Regions from separate parts of the Homo sapiens genome. Here all the other regions are linked to region 7. Evidence: promoter capture Hi-C in human tissues and cell types (Jung and others, 2019). All regions are on one chromosome and are shown on one strand. The core of a region is centred on a gene start or on the middle of the fragment in contact, and the rest is flanking DNA. Distances in the headings are between cores, read along the strand shown. Region 1 has its middle 440 kb from the start of KCNJ2. Region 2 has its middle 390 kb from the start of KCNJ2. Region 3 overlaps LINC01483 (long intergenic non-protein coding RNA 1483). Region 4 has its middle 370 kb from the start of KCNJ2. Region 5 overlaps LOC124904100 (a long non-coding RNA gene). Region 6 overlaps LINC01483 (long intergenic non-protein coding RNA 1483). Region 7 holds the start of KCNJ2 (potassium inwardly rectifying channel subfamily J member 2).

What was found. The method cuts DNA at HindIII sites, captures the fragments that hold promoters and counts their contacts. A contact is called where the count stands out against the background at its distance.
Region 1: a fragment that was not itself captured here is called in contact with the fragment with the promoter of KCNJ2 in region 7 in 1 of the 25 tissues and cell types used here (dorsolateral prefrontal cortex).
Region 2: a fragment that was not itself captured here is called in contact with the fragment with the promoter of KCNJ2 in region 7 in 1 of the 25 tissues and cell types used here (dorsolateral prefrontal cortex).
Region 3: a fragment that was not itself captured here is called in contact with the fragment with the promoter of KCNJ2 in region 7 in 1 of the 25 tissues and cell types used here (psoas muscle).
Region 4: a fragment that was not itself captured here is called in contact with the fragment with the promoter of KCNJ2 in region 7 in 1 of the 25 tissues and cell types used here (dorsolateral prefrontal cortex).
Region 5: a fragment that was not itself captured here is called in contact with the fragment with the promoter of KCNJ2 in region 7 in 1 of the 25 tissues and cell types used here (hippocampus).
Region 6: a contact is called between a fragment that was not itself captured here and the fragment with the promoter of KCNJ2 in region 7, in 1 of the 25 tissues and cell types used here (heart left ventricle).

The regions. Positions count from the first base shown.
Region 1 is chr17:70,611,288-70,614,760 of GRCh38, reverse strand. No RefSeq gene overlaps it. Among named protein-coding and RNA genes, the nearest start is that of KCNJ2, 440 kb to the right of the region's middle. The HindIII fragment of the contact is 7,463 bases long and covers 1-3,473 here.
Region 2 is chr17:70,559,436-70,562,744 of GRCh38, reverse strand. No RefSeq gene overlaps it. Among named protein-coding and RNA genes, the nearest start is that of KCNJ2, 390 kb to the right of the region's middle. The HindIII fragment of the contact is 5,665 bases long and covers 1-3,309 here.
Region 3 is chr17:69,733,001-69,736,414 of GRCh38, reverse strand. All of the region lies in intron 3 of LINC01483 (long intergenic non-protein coding RNA 1483), which reads right to left. Among named protein-coding and RNA genes, the nearest start is that of LINC01483, 140 kb to the right of the region's middle. The HindIII fragment of the contact is 5,215 bases long and covers 1-3,414 here.
Region 4 is chr17:70,539,810-70,543,099 of GRCh38, reverse strand. No RefSeq gene overlaps it. Among named protein-coding and RNA genes, the nearest start is that of KCNJ2, 370 kb to the right of the region's middle. The HindIII fragment of the contact is 4,875 bases long and covers 1-3,290 here.
Region 5 is chr17:70,498,875-70,502,280 of GRCh38, reverse strand. LOC124904100 (a long non-coding RNA gene) reads right to left here. Exons shown (of 2, transcript XR_007065977.1): 2 at 1-238. Among named protein-coding and RNA genes, the nearest start is that of KCNJ2, 330 kb to the right of the region's middle. The HindIII fragment of the contact is 3,774 bases long and covers 1-3,406 here.
Region 6 is chr17:69,715,124-69,718,170 of GRCh38, reverse strand. The region is part of intron 3 of LINC01483 (long intergenic non-protein coding RNA 1483); the gene reads right to left. Among named protein-coding and RNA genes, the nearest start is that of LINC01483, 120 kb to the right of the region's middle. The HindIII fragment of the contact is 5,314 bases long and covers 1-3,047 here.
Region 7 is chr17:70,168,128-70,171,604 of GRCh38, reverse strand. It overlaps KCNJ2 (potassium inwardly rectifying channel subfamily J member 2), which reads right to left and starts at 2,073. Exons shown (of 2, transcript NM_000891.3): 1 at 1,904-2,073. It overlaps KCNJ2-AS1 (KCNJ2 antisense RNA 1), which reads left to right and starts at 2,203. Exons shown (of 1, transcript NR_036534.1): 1 at 2,203-3,477. RefSeq lists a silencer at 2,018-2,477. The HindIII fragment of the contact is 1,534 bases long and covers 1,934-3,467 here.

The DNA of each region.
Region 1 (3,473 bases), core at 571-3,070, 440 kb before region 7:
TATATGACTTCAAGGAATATTGTCAGTAATTGTAACACAATGGTATTTATGTATCTAAATATAGAAAAGGTACAGTAAAAATACTCGATGAAAAATGAAATATAGTACACCTGTATAGCACACTGGTATACCATGAATGGAGCTTACAGGACTGGAAGTTGCTTTGGGTGAGTCTGTGAGTGAGTGGTAGTGAATGTGAAGGTCTAGGAGATTACTGTATACTACTTTAGACTTTATAAACACTGTACACTTAGGATACACTAAATGTATTTAAAATATTTTTCTTCAACAATAAATTAACCTTAGCTTACTGTAACTTTTTTACTTTATAAACTTTCTCACGTTTTTTAACTTTTTGACTTTTTTTGTAATAACGCTTAGTTTAAAACACTCATTGTACAGCTGTACAAAAAATATTTCTTCTTTATGTACTTATTCTATACACTTTCTTCTTTTTATTTTATTTTTTAATTTTAAAACATTTTTGTTAAAGACTAAAACACAAACACACACAGTAGCCTGAGACAACACACAGTCATGGTCATCAATATCACTGTTTTTCTTCTTCACCTCTTGTCCCGCTGTCTTCAGGGGCAATAACATGCATGAACCTGTCATCTTCTATGATAACAATGCCTTCTTCTGGAATCCCTCCTACAAGGACCTGCCTGAGGCTGTTTTACAGTTAACATATTTTTTGTAAGTAGGAGTATACTTTAAAATAACCATAAAAATATAACACAGTAAATACATAAACCAGTAACATAGTAATTTATTATAACAGTCTAGTATTATGTACTATACATAGTTGCCTGTGCTAGACTTTTGTAAGACTGGCAGAGCAATAGTTGTGTTTATACCAGCATCACCACAAACATGTGACTAATGCATTGTGATATGACTACAAAGGCTAAGAAGTCAGCAGGCTATAGCAATTTTTCAGCTCCATTATAATCTTATGGGACTACTTTCATACATGTGGTCCATCCTTGACTGAAACGTCATTATGTGGCACATGACCATATACATATATATATATATAATCTTACATTTGCAAAATTATCTGTAATTTGCAAATAAAAAAGAATTCGATGGGGGGTTCTTTTGGACTATTATATATAAGAAACAAACTTTAACAAGCAAAAGACTACTTGAATTAACTTCTTTCTGGAATCCCTAGTTGGGAGAAATTTTATTATTGACTCATGAGGTTTACATTCAAACTTTTTGCAGTGCCCTAGTAGGCTACATTGAATAATATGGCTGGACATAGTTCGAGGTTAAGAAAGAGATCAGGGTATGAATTTTCAGCTTTGGGTAAAATACCACCTTAGAGTCCATTTATTTAACATTTTATTGTGACTCATTCCAGAGTCTTCTGGGAACAAAATGTAAAACAGCCACTTGTAGGTCTAGGAGACAACCCAGTGGAGGTATGGCTGGTATTGGAAAAGTACAAGAACCTGGACACAAGGCTGTTGTAAAAAAAAATGCTGCTCTCCTTCCCTGAGTGGGTAGCGGCTTATTGACTGATGATGAGTGCAATGTCTAGACACAAAGGGTTAAGACCTCAGAAACCTGGGGGAAAATTATGGGGGAATAGTTCTTTCCAGCCCCTGAAGTTTCCCCCGATATAAACACTTCTGTCTTTTTCTAACCTTTAATCACTATTTTACCAGAAGTAATAAGATGATTCATCGAACTAGTAAATTTGAGGACAATAATTTGGGTGTACTGACTTCAGCTCTTCCTTTTTTCTTTTATTTACTTCTTCTTCTCCTCCTCTCCCATCAAAAAGTCAGTAGGTGACGTACCTCCATGCCCGATGTGTAACCTTTGTGGTCTTTGCATTTCAGGTCTGGTCTGGCATGTGCAGGTGGTTAAGTGTCTCAGTCTCATATTTACTTGGTAGGTTTATTTGGCTCAGACACTAAGCTACATCATCTCACTTAGTAGTTATCATGAATCAAGGTGAAAATTTTGACCCCATCTGCTTCTTTTTTTCACACTTTCTCAACATTTTTAGAACATGGATGGGAAAGAGGGATGCTATTTATTAAGCCTGCTGATTTCCTAGAAAACTGACATGAATCCCATTTGGCAGATGAAAAGATTGAGTCTTTTGAGTGTGAACAAGTCAACCAAGTTCACGTCATTAGCAAAGGAAAGGGGCCCATATTTGAAGCCACCTGTCTGGTTCTATAACCTACCCTTATAGCCATCTTGCTGATTTTTTGTTCTTTTCTTGTTCCTGGGTTGAACACATACTTTATTTCCTCATTAATGAAATCAGATTCTTTCTTTCAACGAATTAAGTACTTATTTGGTAACAAAACGAACTAGAATGCGTAGAAGGTCTCAGAATCCATTGCTCTTCTAAGCTAATGTTAACTCAAACAGAGATTGAGAAATGGAAAGAGGGAACAGGAAGAAAAGAGCAAAAGAAGAAACTTGGGAGCTGGAGAAGAGGACGTTTGGGAGGATGGGGTTATTGCAAATGTCTATTTATGCTTCTAACTCCCTATGGTGAGGAAATGATCATGAAAAATGACAACAATTTCTCTTCAAGTAACTTGTGTGGTAAAAGTGGAAAAAATAAGGGGCTTGGTTAAGTATTATGTATGTTGTTAATTACCACACACACACAAACACACACACACACATATACATATATACACACACACACACACACACACACACACGCATAATTATTTTTTATACAGGGTCTCACACTGCCACCCAGACTGGAGTGCAGTGGCATGATCTCTGCTCACTTCGGCCTCCACTTCCTGGGTTCAAGTGATTCTCATGCCTCAGCCTCCTGAGTAGCTGGGACTACAGGCATGCATCATCACGCCTGGATAATTTTTTGTATTTTTTGGTACAGATGGGGTTTCAGGGTGAAACGAGCCAGACTGGTTTCAAACTCCTGACCTCAAGTGATCCTCCTGCCTTGGCCTCCCAAAGTGCTGGGATTACAGGCATGAGTCACCACGCCCAGCCCATTTATATTTATTTGTAGTGATGGATTAAAAATGATATAAGACATCTTTGTCTCTGACATAGTTTTTAAAGAACATTTCTTTGTGGTCTATATTCATTTTCGTGCATTGAATGAGCTATGCAAAAATGTTCAAACTGAACGCAAGACTGGCCTAAATCAGAGAATGGGAAAAATCTTTTCAGCCTCATGGAGCTGCTGATGCCAGATAGCTCATTAGAAGTCAATCAACTAGAAACCACCAGGAATTGAGTAAGGATTTTTTTTTTCATTTCTTAACACAGAGGAATGATTTAAGCAGTTAGCGAGAAGGGCCAAGAAGCATCCTTTCAAAATAACTGTTGTTGTTAAGTATTCCTGTTGCCTTAGGATTGACAGTAAAGGGGAAAAGAAGTCCGGAATTACAGAATCCATGCAGCAACTTAGAAAGGTTTGCAGAAGATAATTAATAATATATATTAATATATATACT
Region 2 (3,309 bases), core at 758-3,257, 390 kb before region 7:
CTTTCTGGTTCAGAATAAAATGAAGCTACTGCAAACTTCAAAAGGCAACCTGTATCTGGTTACCTTTAGGTAGGCACAAATAATTGTATTGCATTAAAAAGTAAAGATGCAATGGTTCTTACATGATGTCTGAAGGCTTTTGTTTGTTAAAGAGATCATAAGGGTATTTGAATAGCATTTTGGGATTCGGTGGTTCATATTGACTGACGTGTTTTCCTAAATGTAATCCATCAAACTATTGTACTTCATTGAAGAACAAAATCTATTTAATTGGGGGAGATGTTGCAGGGTGTGCATGATAGGTAAAGGATGCCACATTTACAAATAATAAATAAGAACATTCTTTAAGTTGCTTTGCAGGTGAATTTTTATATGGTCTCTATTAGCAAAATTTAAAAATGCAAGGTTAGCACTAAAGTAGAATTCCAACCATGTAAAGCAGAAATGCACTTTATCAAGTACTTCATACATTCAAGTGGAATATCTTAGTAAGTCTTCCCCTGGAAAAAAAGGGAATTTTACTTTCTGAAATATATGCATGCATTCCTGAAAAGCTGCATATAGAATCATTTTTATAGATTAAATACATTATGAAAGTTCGTTACTTACAGGTACATTATAATGATTTGAGGAGAGCTGATATCTCATTCATTGAATCTACTTAAATAAAGCACATTTTTGTGAGGCATATATTTTAGGTTTTATTTCTTTGGTTCAACCAAGATATTCATGCCAATACATAGATAAAATTAGTAAGTGAGAGGACTACTTAGAGGACTTTACATCAACATTATTTTATTAGGTAAGTACAAAGTTAATTATTAATTAATTTTGCCACCCAAAGCATAGATTAAAGATACATAATTTTTCACAAGGTAATAAGACCAAGGCAAGCAATTACGGCAAATGCACCTGAGACAATCTTGCTTGCTCAAGGCATTTTGTACAAAGGAAATAAATGTTCTTTCAATGCTTTGAAATATTGTCAGAATGACGTAGTTGTACAACAAAACATCAGACATGCAGGCAGTGGAGCTCTCAGATGTGCTAAGGATGACATAGAATAGACCAGAAGATCTCATCCTTGGCTACTCATTGTAACTACTTGGGGAGACTTAAATAATACTGATATCTGGTGGTCATGCCTAGAGATCCTGACTTAATTGGTCTTAGGCATGTCAAGGGCATGGCAATTTTGAAAGCTCCCTTGGTGATGCAAATGTGCCGCCACAGCAGAGGATCTCTGGTTTAGATTGATCTAGCAATTCTTACATTTCACTATGTGTAAGAGTCTCTTACATGCTTGTTAAAAAGTGCGTCTAGGCCGGGCATGGTAGCTCATGCCTGTGATCCCAGCACTTTGGGAGGCCGAGGTGAGCAGATCACCTGAGGTCAGGAGTTCCAGGCCAGCCTGGCCAGCATGGCAGAACCCTATCTCTACTAAAATAAAAATACAAACATTAGCCGGGCTTGGTGGCGGGTGCCTGTAATCCCAGCTACGCGGGAGGCTGAGGCACGAGAATCGCTTGAACCCAGGAGGCAGAAGTTACAGTGAACTGAGATCATGCCATTGCACTCAACCTGGGTGACACAGCAAGACTCCATCTCGAAAAAAAAAAAAAAAAAAAGTATGCCTAATCAGCTACCCAGGGGATTTCCGTTCAGGTGGTCCTTGAGCCATAGTCTAGGAAAAACAAAACAAAAACCTCCTGTCTTGTTTTACCTTATTTTTTAAGTCCTGGGCTTCTCACTTGGTGATGCCAACCTAAGCTATGTGAAAGTTCACTCAGAGTGCATAATTCTCAATTTTGGCAGTTCCCATCATTCATGGAAACAAAAACTTTCACAAAAGCTTCTGTACCATTGTGTTGCCACATGCAATGCCAAGGGCAATTCCAGATTCCCATAAGTTAGGCAAGTCTCCAGCCACCACCCCCCCATCAAAAAAAAGGCCAAAATAATGAAGTCGATTACACTCAGAAATAAACTACTAAATTCATGAAAGATCTTTTCTTTTTTAAATTATTTTTACTTTAAAATTTTATTTTAAAAATGTGTTAAGTCCATGACTCAACAATTCCACTCTCAGATGTTTATCCTAGAAGAATAAAAACATGTGTCTCCCAAAAAAACTTGTTCAAGAATTTTTCTAGCATTTTTATTTATAATTACCAAATATCAGAAAAAAAAACTAAATGTTTATCAACAAGTGAATGGAGAAATAAATTGTGGTATATGTATACAATGGAAGACTACTAAGTTGAAAAATAAAAATTAAAAAACATACAAGCAACTGATAGGCAAATAACACAAACTAATTCTCAAAGACATTATTTTGAATGAGGGAAGTATGAGACAAAAGAGAACATACTACATGAATCAATTTATATGAAGTTCTAAAATAGATAAAATTCATCCATGGTGATAGAGTACAAGAGGATTGACCAAATGTAGTGAGAGGAAAGGTTATGAGAAGATGGAAACATTTTATGTTTTGATTGGGGTGGTGGTAACACCCCACAACACATGTGTTATGGAAATGTGCTCAAAAACTACAATAACTAATATGTTGCCCTTAAAAACACATAGTACCTTTCTAAAGACATTTCTAATGACTTTTCAAAAGAAATGCATGTAAGGCCAGATTGAAATTCAAATGCTTCCTCTGTCAATCCCTTTTTAAAGGCAGTATTATAGCTAAATCATTACATTAAAAAAACTTTTAAAGAGGCTTTTCAGTTCAGGGAAGAGCATAGAATATTAGCCTAACATATGAATCAGCTGTTCCAATTCTTTTATTTTAGAGATGAGGGAACTCAAGCCTGCAATAATATATTCGGCATCACCCTGGAAGTTGCTGGTGTTGCTTTTCGCACTCAGCTTTTGTGACAATATATCTACTACTCTTTCTAATGCACATTCTAGTCTAGTTTACATTAATAATTAGGAATACTTAGCTAATACCTAATATGTGTGTCTTATCAAATCTCAAATATTCATGAAATACCTCTAACATGTCACCTTAAAAATATGTCATAGCTTTTCTCCATTGATTGATTAGTAAGTGGGTCATATATTTAAACTCACAGTACAACTTGGAGATGTATATATATATTATATATATATTCTATTATCTTTATTTTTGTGAATCACTTATCTAGCCTTCTGTCTTTAACCTTGCCTCATGGGTAGCAGAGTAAAATAATATAACTAATATACAATTGGGTAACTCAAACTAATTTTTAAGGTGATTCTTAGTTTTTCTTGAGAAAACACTTGGTTTCCTATAAAACCTTATAATGACAAAAA
Region 3 (3,414 bases), core at 380-2,879, 430 kb after region 7:
TGAGAATCTACAATGAACTCAAACAAACTAGTAAGAAAAAAACAAACAATCCCATTGAAAAGTGGGCTAAGAACATGAATAGACAATTCTCAAAAAAGATATACAAATGGCCAACAAACATAAAAAAATGCTCAACATCACTAATAATCAGGGAAATGCAACTCAAAACCACAATGCAATATCACCTTACTCCTGCAAGAATGAGCATAATAAAAAAATCAAAAAACAGTAGATATTGGTGTGGATGCAGTGAACAGGGAACACTTCAACACTGTTGGTGGAAATGTAAACTAGTACTACCCCTATGGAAAACAGTGTGGAGATTCCTTAAAGAATGAAAAGTAGAAAACCATTTGATCTGGCAATCCTACTACTGGGTGCCTACCCAGAAGAAAAGAAGTCATTATACAAAAAGATACTTGCACATGCATGTTTATAGCAGCACAATTCGTAATTACAAAATCATCAGACTAACCCAAATGCCCATCAGTCAACGAGTGGATAAAGAAATTGTGGTATATTTATATGATGGAATACTACTCAGCCATAAAAAGGAATGAATTAATGCCATTCACAGCGACCTGGCTGAGATTGGAGACTATTATTCTAAGTGAAATAACTCAGGAATGGAAAACCAAACATTGTATGTCCTCACTGATATGTGGGAGCTAAGCTATGAGGATGCAAAGGCATAAGAATGATACAATGGACTTTGGGGGAAGAGTGGGATGGGGCGAGGGATAAAAGACTACAAACATAGTGCAGTATATACTGCTTGGGTGATGGATGCACCAAAATCTCACAAATCACCACTAAAGAACTTACTCATGTAACCAAATACCACCTGCACCCCAATAACTTGTAATATATATATATATTTTATATATATTTGTATATATATGTAATATATATGTAATATATAAATTATATATAATATATATCATATAAATATTAAATATATATTATTAAATATATATAATATATTTATATATCTGTTTTATATATATATATAAATAAAAGAAAATGCCCTTTGTTTGGAGATGAGTGATCCTACCTCTCTAATGCTGTCTCTGAACCCGAGTCAATTTTTAACTTCAAAATGAAGTTCAGAGCCTGCTTCACTGGAAATTCACATCTTGTCCATCAGCTCCTTCAAACTAAAATTGATACTGATCTTGACTTGTTTGCTTTAAAGCCCCTTTAGAATTGTTTTCCTCAGTTGCTTTTCATTCTGCTTCTTTTTAACTTTAAATTTGGCACCTCCTTCTTGACTTGATTCATGCTTTCTTTGCATAGAGTTCACCACGGTCTTCCTCCACCAGGGTCATGATAGTGCTGGAAATAGAGTCCTTGTCTTTATTGAGGAGGAAAAGTAGGCATCAGCTAAGTACTCCCTACAAAGTCATCCTACAAAGTCATCTTGTAGGATGACAGATTGTGATCAGAGTTAAGAAGGAGATTTACAGATGCTGTTTGAGGGAGTGACAGGGTAATCTGAGTAAGTCTGGAAATTAGGGAAGAGAGTAAGCATGAGCTGAGATTTGAAGGATAAGAAGCAGTTAACTTTTACAGAGACCAGTGGGAAGAGCATTCCAGGAAGCTGGAATGGAATGTGCAATGGTCTTGTGGCAAGAAGAATCACATGCATTAGACAATCAGAAGAAAAGACCAGCAGAAAAGACTGAATTGTGGAGAATGGGTTTGTGAGTGCCTGAGAGATGATACTGGTGCCAAATCAGGTAGGACCTTTTCGGCCATGCTAAGAAGGCTGACCTCAGGAAGCACGTGTGATCTTTATCCCAAAGATAATAGGATAGTATTAAATTAATTTAAGCTTGTCATGATTAGAATTGCCATGTATATAGAACAGATTGAGGATAGGGGAAAGGGACCCAGGGACGGATGCAGGGAAATCAATTAGGAGGCAAGAGATACAGAAGGCACAGTAACCACTTTTGAGGTTCTCTGAGTTTATATGGGAAAATTATTAGCAATTAATAAAGCAAGACTGCACTTCTCCCACTCACAAGGAAAGATTAAATGATCTGTAGTAATAGAAATCACTATCTCCAACATCAACTACAAAGTTAACTTTTTATGTATTTTCCTAGTAATTTTTCCCTTCTGTATGACAGAAATAACCCCTTCCTTAATGTCCACACCTAAATATTAAAGTATAATTACACAACGATCATAAGAGAAAATGCCATAAAAATATGTGACATTGCTGCTGCCTGTGATGACATTTCAAATTGGAGCCTGCACTGGAGATAGTAACATATTTAGGGAAACTATGTACAAAAGCAAGCTGGAAACTATTGTGTCTGTGTTCTCTTAAATGCAGCAACAACAGTAATAATGGTCTCTATAATGCCACACCTGAAAGAGAAATTTGGGGAAATAGCCAACCTTGGCTAGGAAGCAAATTGTAGAGGGTGGTACAGTCAGTTTGTCCAAGGCTGTGGAAGACTGGCTCCTGGCTGCCCACAATCTCATAGTCACATGTTGCTTCAGGCTTCAACAAGCTTAGTACAGTCATAGGCAGGAAATAGCAAAGTCAAAGGGATTAAGTGACTCTGCTGCCTGCATGTGTGTTGGCCCTATAGCAGACTCAGGAGCTGCCAACTGGCACTCGAGCTGCAGCTTCCATCTTAAAGAGAAGCAAGCTGTCCCCTTACACAAACCCAAATTTCCCGCTTCTGAATTAACCTGTCCTGGAAAGCCATCCTTGGCTTTGCAAACATTGGTAAAAACACAGCCCATCTTTTCTCCTCTCCCCACTGTGCATCTGCAAATCCCTACTGGGCACAAATGCAAAACAGTTGCCAATGTCCTTTTTGGGATTTGTAGGGCAAGCAGCCAACTGGCTGCCTGTAGGTTATTCACACTGCAATAGGGAACAAATTTCTTGCTGCAATTATCCCTAAAGTTCTACTGTTTACCCCAGGAATAAACTAATTGCTGCTGTAAAACACTGTTTCCCACACTGTCCGGCACACATCTGTAAATTCCAAGAGGAATGAGGGTGAGCAGGTTACCAGTTCAACACTTTTGGGAAGGAATGGAGATTGGCCAACTGGAATTCAGCTTATTATTCATGGTGGAATAGAATTTGAGCTTCTTATTGCAAATACTCTTGCATGTTTCAGTGCTTACCTGTGTACTTAACCCAACTTGGATCTCAATTTGTAATATGCCCTTGTTTACTACTGGCTGTGAACTGGAGGAAATGAAAAATAAAGACAATATGCACACCTCGAATATTTACTGAATACCTGCTAAATGCCAAGTAGTGTGTTTGGTGCTGAAAATTGTCCACGGGAATTTTATATTACTTAAAGAATTCAGTAAGGTATACTTTTTCCATCACCATCAACTATTTGACTTGTAAGTGGAGATTTCATTCCAAATAGC
Region 4 (3,290 bases), core at 710-3,209, 370 kb before region 7:
TGCAGGTGTTCCCCTTTCCTGCCAAAGTTAAAGAGTAGCAGTGCCTTTTGAAGATAAAGCTTCAAAGGAATAATTCACTCAAAGATGGTTTTTCAGTTGCCTTAGGCAAGGCTGAATTTGTCTCGCACCATTTACATAAAACTAAATAAAAATGTGTCTTCCTTCCTACTCATAGGGACTATTTTACAACTAAACTTTTCAAAAGGCCAGAAGCTCATCATTTGGCTCTAACGGGGCAAACTTTGTTACTCCTTGTCTATTTCAGCAATCCCTGCGCCTCAGTTTGATCCTCTGTTGATTTAAGGATTGGATTAAATGTTTCCAAAATTTGTGAGAGGAGGTAGAGTGTATTTGGGCTTGATTTCAGTTTTGCCATTTAGTCAGATGGTATGTAACCCTGGAAAGTCACTGAATTTCTTTAAGTGTCCATTTTCTCATCAGTAACAAAATGAAGATAATCCACATACTTATCCTATGGATATGTAAGAATCATAAATCAATTTGCTAAATTGGCTGAATGTAATAGGACACAATTGTTACAGGAAAGGGGTCCCAATCCAGATCCCAAGAGAGGGTCTTGGCTTTCGCTCAAGAAAGACGAATTCAGGGAGAATCCAGAGAGTAAAGTGAACGCAAGTTTATTAAGAAAGTAAAGGAATAAAAGAATGGCTACTCCATAGACACAGCAGACCCAAGGGCTGCTGGTTTCTTATTTTTATGGTTATTCCTTGATGACATGCTAAACAAGGGGTGGAGTATTCATGCCTCCCCTTTTTAGACCATATAGGGTAACTTCCTGATGTTGCCTTGGCATGTGTAAACTGTCACAGCACTGGTGGGAGTGTAGCAGTGAGGATGACCAGAGGTCACTCTCGTGACCATTTTGGTTTTGGTGGGTTTTAGCCAGGTTCTTAATTGCAACCTGTTTTATCAGCAAGGTCTTTATGAACTGTATCTTGTGCCGATCTCCTATCCCATCCATCATTTAGAATGCCTAAGCATCTGGGAATGCAGCCTAGTAGATTTCTGCCTCATTTTACCTAGCCCCTACTCAAGATGGAGTTGCTCTGGTTCAAACACTTCTGACACAATTGAAAAGGAGTCTCTAAAACTATACACCAGGGGCCAGGTGCGGTGGCTCATGCTTGTACTCCTAGCACTTTTGGAGATCAAGGCGGGTGGATTGCCTGAGCTCAGGAGTTCAAGACCAGCCTGGGGAACACGGTGAAGCCCCTGGCTCTACTAAAAATACAAAAAATTATTCGGGCAGGGCAGTGCGCACCTGTAATCCCAGCTATTCAGGAGACTGAGACAGGAGAATTGCTTGAGCCTGGGAGGCAGAGGCTGCAGTGAGCCAAAATCACACCATTGCACTCCAGCCTGCACAACAGAGTGAGACTCTGTCTCAAACAAACAAACAAACAAACAAAAACTATATGTAGGATCTTCCTTATGTCTCCCTTACATTTATCATTATGTTTAGCTCTAAGAACAATAACATATTTTAATTGTTAGAAATTCCTATCCAGTGGAAAAAAAATAAACAAATGAATAAATAGATATCACCCCCACCAACACACACATATATAGATACCAGTTCAGGCCCAGTTTGTGGTCTGTAGGTATTAGGGAGAACTGTAGCTCTTCCAGACATGTCTGACCCAGAGTAACTTTGTCTTTAGCTGTTTTACATTTAAACTCCTAGGAAAAATGTTACTTCGATAAATGTTGCTGTAGCTAATAACATTCGGAGTCTAGAGAATTAAGAAGCATCACTATATAACATATCACCTAAGCCAGGTACTTTTGAGGGTCCTGGGAAGTAGCAGAAAAATTACAAGACATCACTGTAATTCAGGACTGTCCCAGGTAAACTGGGAATTACACATCGTAGGTTGAAGTGGAGGTATCAGAATAACATTCAGCAGTGAATCTCAGAAACCCAAACTAACAGTGGCTTAAACAAAATAGAATAAAATTTTGTTTGTTTCTATGATTAATTTTTAACAATCCTTTTCTCAAATGATATTGTCCATGGCTGATAATATGAAGCCATGCAGATCCCATGTTCATTTCTGGTCCGAAATGATTGATTGTACCCCAGCCATAAAGGATGAAGATCTTGCCCTAAACCTTTGAAAAAATGTTGCACATAACACTTTGCTTACATTCCATTAGCCAGAACTAGTTACAATACCATATCTAACTATAAGAAAGTGATTCTCTGGCTATAAAAGTAAAAGAGACAATATTTGTAGAAACTAGTATTTTTTTTTTTTTTTTTTTACATTATAACATTTACTATTAGGTATGTGAATGGGCCAGATGTCTACTCAATATTACAGAAAAAATGGCAAAACCCTGTCTCTACTAAAAATACAAAAAAAAAAATTAGCCAGGTGTGGTGGTGCGTGGTCTGTAATCCCAGCTACTTGGGAGGCTGAGGCAAGAGAATTGCTTGAACCCAGGAGGCAGAGGCTGCAGTGAGCCGATATCACGCCACTGTACTCCAGCCTGGGCAACAGAGTGACTCCATCTCAAAAAAAAAAAAAAAAAAAAGGCAGGTAAGAAAGTGTAATTTGGTCCTTTTAATTATTTTACAATGTTCACTCTAACATTTGTTGCTACTCTCAGATGTTCAGTAGATGATAACTATTATTGAAATATAGTTCTTTTTGTTCAAAAAACTTAAAATACTTGTAGTGAAAGAAATTAACAATGCATAACAAAGAAGCATACACACGCAGACCACAGACACACACACACACACACACACACACCGTGCACGGAGTGTGCGATGTATCCTAGGTATTCCAGGGATGAGATAACATATTGTGTCCTGAAAAGGAAAGTGTCTGCTAGTCCTTGGACTTTATTTTGGACCTACAGAGAGAATGCTTCGGTTACAAGAAGAATAAGGAGGCAGATAATAAAAACGGGAGCAATAACTGAGTAGAAGTACAATAGCAAAGGGAGCCCAGTGGGAGAAAATAATGAACTTAGAGCATAGAGTACTTGTTAAGAAGTGGAGGTGAGGCCGGGCACAGTGGCTCATGCCCATAATCCTAGCACTTTGGGAGACCAGCCTGGGCAACACGGTGAAAACCCATCTCTACTAAAATACAAAAAATTAGCCGGGTGTGGCAGCGTGGGCCTGTCGTCCCAGCTACTCGGGAGGCGGAGGCAGGAGAATTGCTTGAACCCGGGAGGTGGAGAGGTGGAGGTTGCAGTGAGCCAAGATTGTGCCACTGCACTCCAGCCTGGGTAACAGAGTGAGACTCCGTCTCCAA
Region 5 (3,406 bases), core at 588-3,087, 330 kb before region 7:
GTTCATTCCAGCAAATCGAGGGTTTACACAGGTTAAAATGTCTGTGAGATTAGGATAGTCTCTTAGACACTCAGGTTTATCTTGTAATGTTCAGGTAAATTTACATAGCAGAGTTCCTTGAAATTTCTAGATCGTCTTTTTCTTTCATCCCAACCTCAGTGGAATCCTTTCATATCCACTCCAACCCTCTTTATCTGGACCTGCATGATAGAAAAGCTTGATGTTTTGACAATGTCTCCTGTTAGATACAGAAAAGAGAGATTAAAAAAAAAATCAGAGCTGGATGATACATGGGGGAAGGGAAGTTGTCTTAGATCTAAAAACCACAGCTCAATATTGTAGAACATAATGGTTTAAGACCAACATTTTAAATAAAACTTTGTTACACTTTTTTTTTCCCCAATAATATATGTGCTGGTCTATAGCTATATAGTCTTCATAGTAGTTTAGTTTCTTCTTATCCTTTCTTCCTGTAATTTAGTCTAATTGTTAAGAGTCTTATGATGTCAGAAAAATTTTCCAGGTCTTGGAAATAGGTGGGCATGAGAGACTACTGGGTGCCCTTTCAGTGGAGATCTGGGCATTGTCTTGAGGCCCCTCCCTAGGGATTGTCTGATTCTACAAAGGTGTGCATGTGTGATTGATTTGCCATTATTAGCTATTTGACCATTTTGAAGGGGTAGAAGTTAAGCTGTGGGAAATCAGAAGCAATGCAAATGTTTCCTGTTCATTGCAATGCAAATTAACTTTCTCTGTTAGAAAATATGCATTCCACGAATCACGTTCTCATTTGAACCAGTTTTAACCTTTTAGTATTTTCATCATTAATTAATGAGTAGAATGAAATCTTTTATATGTGTTTACTGTATATGTAACAATTTAACTTTTTAAGAACACATACTTTAACAGTTGTCAGTCATTGGAGGGTCTATATTTCTTGAAGGTTAGAAATCACTTACTAAGCAGCTAATTACAGGACACAGAAATCATAAAAGCTGAACTTCTCAGTTATTCTTTGGACTCAGCATTTCTTGTCTTTCAGGAATACAATTGTCTAGCACATTTATATTTGGAAGCAATTCAAATCTTAATTTCAAGTTTCTTTAGAAAATGAAAAAAGGAGGCTACGACATTCTTAATGCACAGCTAAACTTCTAAATATTATCTTTCTTCTATCTCTGCCACAAAGGTGAGATCTCTGTCTTTTTGCTCCTCCTCCCCTCCTCTCTGCTTTCAAGTCCAAGCCGTTGCAGCAGAACAACTTAGAACTCAAGCACTAGCTCTAGTATCCCCACACTCCAGGTCTGGCTCTCAAAATCAGCATTAGTTTGGTGCAAAAGTAATTGTGATTTTTGCATTAGTAACAGCAAAATAAAATACCATAGTAATGGCAAAGCAATTACTAATGGCAAAACCGCAATTGCTTTTGCACCAACCTAATAGCTGTAAGTCTTTAAGAAAACTGCTTAACTACCCTCTGGCCCAGTTCCCTTTCTGATTTATAAAAATGGGATGATGATGATAAAAATAATAGTAACAATAATTCTGTTGTCAGAAAAATTTAATCAGCTACTAAATGTAAGTGCACTTCGAGAAGTACTTGATGCATTGAACCTCGATGAATGGGAACTGTGGCTTAGGGCTCTTCCACTAGTAAGAATAGACTAGAATGTATTTTCCATACAGGATCTTCTAATGTTCTATGTCTGAATATATGACTCTAATCTTGAAGAGGCATCTTTCAAATTTAGCAATACTTTTATCAGTCCTGGATCAAGATTGTGATTTCTTAAAGTATTTAACCAAAATAAATCAAAGCTCCACAACTTCTAAACTAATGCCCAAACCCTGACAGGTAACTTCTTTATGAAGCATCACTCCTGTATCTTAGTGTCTTGTAAGTGCAAAGCTCTTTAACGTTAACAAAATTTTCAACACTTAAAAAAATTACTGCACCAAAAATAAAACCAAGATTTTCTCATTATCTTTGACTCCACATAAGTTCTGCAATTGTGCCTTGGTTCTTTAATTTATATTTTAAATAAACATAGTTTCAGTCACATGGTTCCTCTTGCCTCAAATATTCAGTATTAAGTCTTCTGCAAGTTTTCTGTCTACTTCTTTCTCTATGCTCTCAGAAATCTTTGTACTTCTTTAATTCTAGCATATAACAGTTTTTCTTCTTTGCATTCTCAATAAGTTTTGTTGCTGATTCCCTAGGGTGAGGACTTTGTTTTCTGATCTGCACATAATAGCAATAAATATTTGTAGATTGAATACAGAGAGGAGAAGGTGGATACATGAACTATGGGACTAACATGATTTCTATTCCTTTTCCTATGCAAATCTCATCCTCCCTTTGATGTCTTTTTGGAATTTCAACTCGTAAATGAAGACCTCCTTGTTTATCTCAGACCTCAGGAATATTTTTTCCTAAAAATTTCTCCAGAATTAGAATCCACATTTATTTTTCTCCTTCTCTTCCTTCTTTGTATTATTATGATGATGCACTCTTGAACTGAATAAGTCTTCCTTCTACCCAACCCCTGGGAAGGTTTATAAGACTATAAGATTCAGGTGCATAAGGACAATGAGCTATAACTTGGTACCATCCTCAATTACTCATGCAGTATTACATTCAGTGTAGGCATTCAATAAGTTCAGGCTTAGTGAAGGTTGTCACTGAAATCCCATCAGCTCAGCAGGGAGCAAGGAGCCTCTTTGAAAGTAAGTAGCCAGGACTCAGGACCCTCCAAGGAATGTGTGATTTAATTAAACTTTTCAAGCTTCAGAGTAATTAGTTGCTGATCAGCAATATTACTATTTTGAGTTTCCAAATTATAAGCACCATTAACTACAAACAACTACATTCTTAGAAAAAAATAGAGGAGGAAGTACAGGAAAATAATGCAGAAGTTAAGAACGTAGGAACACACAGGCATTCAGTGCAGATGAAAAGACAGAAGGCGCAGAGTACATTTGAAACTAACATTGAGAAAGTGACTGCTGATAAGCAGATGTGCACAGAGCCTTACTCAATAAAAAGAGAAAGTTATGTTTTGACTGTAGGAACATTTGTTTTACAGAACTGCTGTACTTTTGAAAGTCTTGGATTATTATTTACAAATATACTTACATAGTATAAAAACAAAATGACACACAGGAAAAAAAGCTAAGAAGTAGTCTGGCTCCAGAGCCCAGGTCTAAGTTCTGATTCCTAAGCTCTCTTTTGTTCTTTGGGTTTAGATTGTTTTTCTTTCAGCCAAGGGATGAAAAAGAGTAACAGACAGGCAAGCTTCCCATTTTCCCCACAAAATGTAGGATACCCCACTACCATTAACTACAGTATACTTTCTGTATTTCTTTTTCAAGAGAAGTGTTGGATTAAGAAATGTACAGGCTCATC
Region 6 (3,047 bases), core at 499-2,998, 450 kb after region 7:
TAATGAGACTTTTAAGGCCTATTATTGTACTTTTCTTATTTGTATGTTCATATCAACAGGCCCCAAATCATTTTAGTCCTCCCAGCATGCTGGACATGGAAAGTTCTTTTTATCAAGGTCATTAATGAATTCACACTAACAAAGAAGCTTTATCTGTGTTACACTCAATATTTGCAGAGGCAAAATAGTGAGCTTCTCTAGAGAAACCCTAGCAAGTGATAATCAAAAGTATCGAGGAAACAAATGAGAAAAGAAGATAAGTTGGGCAAATCACATTCGTATTTTAGAAAAGCGAAGTTGAAAGAGACAGATTTAAGGCGAACTCAGAATTATACAATGGAAAAATACTGCACTGAAGATTAAAGGCCTGCCTGGCAAATAGATAATGCCAAATTTGATGAGAAAATACATTACATTTCCTTTTCTTTGAAATCTTAGTTGATATTTTCCACTTTAACTGGAAAGAAATAAGCTCTAAGATGTCAGTCAACACTTGGAAAGAGAGGCCTCCCTTTCCAGATACAAAAACATGGAGGAAATGCCTAAATGTTTTTTCTATGAAGCACAAACCCCTGGAAAGTTCAAGATCAGCTCACAGGCTGTGAAAAAAAAATCTGCTTCGGGCCTTTTGTTTGGCTGTTAACATTTTTTTCTCTCTAAGGAAAACTGCTGAAGGGGCTGGAAGCAGGAGAGAGAGGTGGGTGAAAAGAATATACTTTCCCTCTGCTTTTCAGACAGGTCCTCTCCCTCAGGGCCTTTGCTTTGATCTTGCCTTTGTATTTACTTGTTACCTGGGCTTTAATTTACCACCAGGTAACTGCTGACCTTGCTCTGTCTAACCTACATAGATTAGGGGAACATGCTCATGAACTTAGTCAAAATAATCTCAGGAGACCTGAGACATTTTCTCACTACTCTCACCTGGACCGTCTTGGATCACTGGACCCTTTGCTTGTCATCTATAACTCTGCAACTAAACTGAGTTAAACTCTCAGCTCTCTGTTATTTTCCCCCATTTTAGAAGCACCACAAAGATTAACCTGTTCGTTTCCAGCTGGATGCTATGTGCTCTGTGATCAGAGTCAATTTCATATATGTGCTACACAAGTCTCCAATCTTAAAAGGGCTCTGCTGATGGTTCCTTGAAATTCTTAATGTTTGAATAGTTGCACACAAGGCCAGCACGAGGCCCTGCAAATTATACAGCTGGTCTTGTGTGTAACTCTTTTTCCCTGCCTGAAATCCAAAAGCACAATCACATTCCTGATGTGACGTGACAAAATCCAGTCTAATGGGGTAAAACATGCATTATCAGTTGAGAAAGCACCTAGATTAAAAAGCTAAGCATAGCCAGCTGCAACTCCAGCCACACAGGCTGTCACGCTTGTTAAATATTCAGGAGCATGCACTCATTTGCTTGGTCACTGCACTAAGCAAAATAAAGGCCTCCAGTCATGTCACATGCTAACATCGAGGAGAACCAGAGACTACGGTTTGTATTAATTGAAAAGTCATGTCCGGACTTCAGCCCTTGCTTCCAGAAAGTTCAGGGCAAAACTCATGAATTCCAGGAATGCACGGAAAGAGAATCAAAGAACAAAACTGGATTTCTACCTAAGTTTAGAAATCAAAGGCTACTGATCTAATGCTTTAGCTGAAATCTTTTATTAGAAATGGCAATAAAACCCAACTAAACAGCTAGAACACAGATCATGTTTTATTCCTTTACATAATCATTTCTTAACTTCATGTTGACAAGAACAACGTGATCATGAGTTATATTATTTCCTGGCTTAGAGTAAAAATGCCTACCTTTTTACAGCTGGGGAATGATTTGTCACCCTTCCTCTCCATACCACACTTCTTCTCTTCCACCAGAAACCCATTATCTGTTGGAGGGACTGAGGCAAGGAGCTGAATCATATATTTTCCTAGTGTCCTTTACTTGTTACATCTGTCTTGTTAAACACAGAATGGAAACTGTTATGCTTTGGCTCTGTGTCCCCACCGAAATCTCATCTCGAATTGTAATCTCCATAATCCCCACATGTTGAGGGAGGGACCAGGTGGGAGATGATTTGATCATGGGCACGGTTTCCCCCATCTGTTCTTGTGATAGTGAGTTCGCACGAGATCTGATGGTTTTACAAGGCAGTTTTCCCTGCTCACTCTCTCTCACCCACCACCATGTAAGATGTGCCTCTTCCTCTTCCGCCATGATTGTAAGTTTCCTGAGGCCTCCCCAGCCATGTGGAACTGTGACTCAATTAAACCTCTTTTCTTTATATATTACCCAGTCTCAGGTATTTCTTTATGGCAGTGAGAAATCTGACTAATACAGAAACCTATGAGGCACTTGCTTCTGAGGGACCCAAGGGACCCAAAGGCAGGTTTCTATTTGAAGAATTTAAGACAAAATTGTTGTGGCAAGATTTTCAGAGGGGGTCAACTACATCTACCAACCTTATCACACGCTTGTACCTCAAACTCTTAGTGTAGACCTGTGTTAAAATCACAGCCCCATAATCAAACAAATTCAGACACCAACTGGATATTAGATGGTAGTTTTTAAAAATCATTGTTTTAATTTAGGTATAAAGTGATGTTTTCACTATACATTAAACAAATATTTCTCTTTTGGAAATATATAATGAAATATGCTATCTATAACACATCATAGCATCTGCTATGTGGGGAAGGACTGGAGTAAGGCTGGTAGAGATGAATAGAATTGTTTATGAGTTAATAATTTTTGAAACTCAGCGATGCGTTCAGGAAAGTTAATTGTGATGTGCTTTCAACTCTTCTATGCATATGAGATTTTCCATAGTGAAAATTATAAAAAATATATTTTGATGTGTTACATGTTATTGTGGTCCTGATGCTACCATTTCTCAGCTGTGGAATATCAGGCAAATAGCTCTCTGAGCCTGTTTCATCTGTGTACTTTTCATAGTCATAGCTACCTCTTGGAGTAACGAGAAATGAATGAGATAGTATGTATGAAGTGACCAGCAAAGGGTAGTTACTCAGTGAAGGAAAAGGCA
Region 7 (3,477 bases), core at 824-3,323:
AAATGGGGGATCTAAATTGCTTTGACTATATAGGTAATACTTCCAATATGGCTTATAAATAACTAAAAAAAAAAATCAAATGAGAGTAAATGTGTCCTGTAATATGGTCATGGTGTGCAATAAATAAGAAAGTTTCTAAGGATAGGAAATAAAGATAGCAAAAGAAAACGTACTGGGCTGAGAGAGAGGTCTGCTAATGAGTGTTTAGAGCAGCTATTCCCCAGCTGACGCCATATAGAACAGCCTGAGTGTGCTCTGGGCACATGTTGCTATGTGAGCACAACTGCTAGGAAAGCAGCCTCTTAGAAGCTCAATAAACATGAGGGAGGAGGAGGGGGAAGTGGGGAGGGGAGGGGGATACCCATCTATCTACGTGTGAGCCCCCTGTCTAACATTTATACTCAACGACACTTGGCTTGTAGCACTGCTCAGCATTTGCATACGCTGAAAAACAGACATGTTTGGTAAATAAAAATATACACTTAAAAAAATCTGAAACACTTAATCTGTGCAGGTAGCTGTTTTCAATCTTTCAGGCTACGCAAAAGTCATACAAGGACGCTACAGCTAACCAGAGATTCTACAACTCAGGAATCCAAAGGATGTAGAAAGACTGTGTTCTTTTATTTTTTTTAAAAGCAAAATTCACATGAGTTTAGATCAAATATTTCTTATGGAGACCAAGAACATTAAAAAATAAAGTGTCATTAAAATATGAGAGAGGAGGAAGCTAAGTAAAATGGCCTTGACCTTATCCTCACCCTTTCCACCATGCTTCAATTAACATCTCTTACCCCTTCTGAGCACCAGGATTTTTCCAGATAATGGCAAATAGAAATGAAACATTTGGAAGTGAGCAGGAAAACGCTAACAAGTGTACAGATAATGTACAGCAGACACACAACATTGGTTGGCGAGAGGAAATCTGGCAGCCTATTGATTATTAATGTGAAAAGAAAACAAATGATAAAACGCAATATGGTTTCTTTGCATATCCGAGGTTTTCAAATAACACCTTATTTCCTAACAGGTAAAATCTGAATTTATGAAAATCGTCGGAATTCACAGCCTTTTATCCTAGTGATCATCCTATGATATCCTTACCCAGACACAGACATTAAACTGCCCATTCCCTATCCCTATTTTTTTTCCAATTGTCATGATGAATCCACGCTATGATGCAATCTTTTTGCAGAATCAAGTCGTTTTGACTATTTTGCTTTCCTAAAACCACACTGTCTTCAAGCCAGGTATTAATACCATTATTACTGAAAATAACAAATTGGTTAGGGGAGAGTGATATGTAATGTGAAAGTTTTGCGATCCTCAGGCTCAAATCCAACTCGGGCTCCCGCTCTTCTTTCAGGAAGGCAACTTTGAGACACTCACTCTGTTTGAAACTCACAGCTATACTTGAAGCAATGACGAAAAAAAAAAAAAGCCAAGGATCAAGAATAGTGCTGAGTCCCAAGCTTTGCCAAGGTTTAAGACCAGGGCTCAAGACGCACCCCCAAACCCGCAACCACGTTTTCTTTCTTTTTTTCCCCACTTAGAGTGAGAACCGAACACAGACGCTCTCGCCCTTGCCTCCAAACCCAGTATCTCGCTACAGCTGGTGCATTGGAAGTTATGAGCACAAACAGATGCTGCAGAGAAATCTGTTTCTATTGCTCAACTGTTCCAAGCATGTCTCAGTATTTTTAGCTCTGGGGATGTTCTGGTGCGCACACAAACTATATAGGCATGATCTGGGACTCCGGAGTGTGGGTGAGCGCTACAGCAGTGTGACAGCTGGGCACCTCTGGAGCAGCGGGGCAGGGTAGGGTAGGGGACGGCGGCCAGAGTCCATTCCCCAGGACACACCGGCAGCGAGCGAAAAGGAAGAAAACACAGCAGCCCTTACCTGTTGCTGGCGCAGGAGCATGGGGACATGGAGTGGAAGTGGGGGGTACAGAGGCATGTAAGATCCAGTGGTTTGTAAAAAGCGAGTGAGCCAAAGCAAACCAGAATTCCCAAGACCCAGCCCGCCGGCGCCGGGAAGGCTGCGCGCTGGCCAGGGCTCCAGTGCGCTCTGCAATATCCTGGGCTCTTTTGAGGCGGTCCGTGCGACACCGGCTCTCCTGGCCCCGCCCCCGGCCGCTGCCGGCCAATCGCAGCGCGCCTGGCCGCGCGGCCGGCCCCGGGAACCGCGGCGGGGAGGGGAGGATGCTGCGAGGCGTTGCCAGCGGAGGGAACCTGCCGCCGCCTCGTCCCCCTCCACCCTCGGAGCCCGGCCGGGGAGTCGGGCCCGGGCCGGGGAGGAGGAAGTTGCGGCCCAGCTGGGACAGCAGCAGGTGGGAAGCTCCGCGCCCGGCTGTTGCGGCTGCCTGATTGCAGCCTGGCCTTGGGCAAAGCTTCCTACTCCGTCTGGAGCCCCACACACTTCCCGGTTCCCCCGCTCTTGGGCCGCTTGCCCTGCGTGCTCCTCGAGGGGCCTGCGAGGTGCCAGCGCCGGGTAGAGACCTTTGCCGCAGGGGCAGGATTGTTCGTCGGTCCCGGCGCGTCTCCCTCTCCACTCCCTCTCTGCCGGAGCCCCTCGGCCCTTCGAAGCCCCCCGCGGAGGCTGCAGCGCCCGGAGAAGCCACTGAGTCAATGGGGCGAGGGACTGGGGCGGGCGCGCAGAGCCCCCAGGATTGAGACGCGCGCAAGTGCGGCCACTGCAGCGCCGCTTGGCTGTTTGTTCTCCCGACTGTTCGCGAATTACTTACAAGGCGCCTAGGCTTCTCCGAAGGGTGGACGGCTCGTTCCCTCTCGCCTTGTCCGCCCTCAGTCTCTCCACCACCGCCCGGCACGCTTTGCTGATCTAAAATCAGAACAATTAGAGAGTAATGATTTTTTTTGGAATAGCAACTCCTACAGACACTCAGATCTGCCCTCGCTTCAGCGCCTCCCAGCCCTCCTTCCCAGCAGCCAGGCGAGAGCGCGCAGACCCCTAAAAAGCAACTTCAGTGTTAACCGGGTCTGGATCCTGGAACTTTATAAACTAATCCGTGTGTGTGTGTGTGTGTGTGTGTGTAAACCGAAGAGTAAGTGCCTATTATTTCTGAGTACTTCGGTGTCCTAACGAAGCTTTGCTCCTAAAGGACAGGATATATTTTAGGAGTCTTTCTTTCCACTGAGTTTTTTAAATGTTTATTTTCTCGAGCGATCAAATGTGTCTTTTGTGCAGTTTATTTAAACCTCGTAAGGCCTCCTTGAGTCGCTGAACTAATTCAGCAAACTAGCTGGTATTGTGGACGGCGCAGTCGGGGTGGATTTTTGTGTGTAGGAGAGGTGAAACTGACAATTCAAGGAAAGGTTCTGTGCGAGTCCCCACCTCCCATCCTCATATCCACACGTGGCCCCTAGGAGGTGCTGGTGAAATATGCTTGCTTAGGTTTCGCAGATCCGCACTTACTCCTGCCTTAACAAGTGTGCCTTTTTTCTTAGCACTGAGCA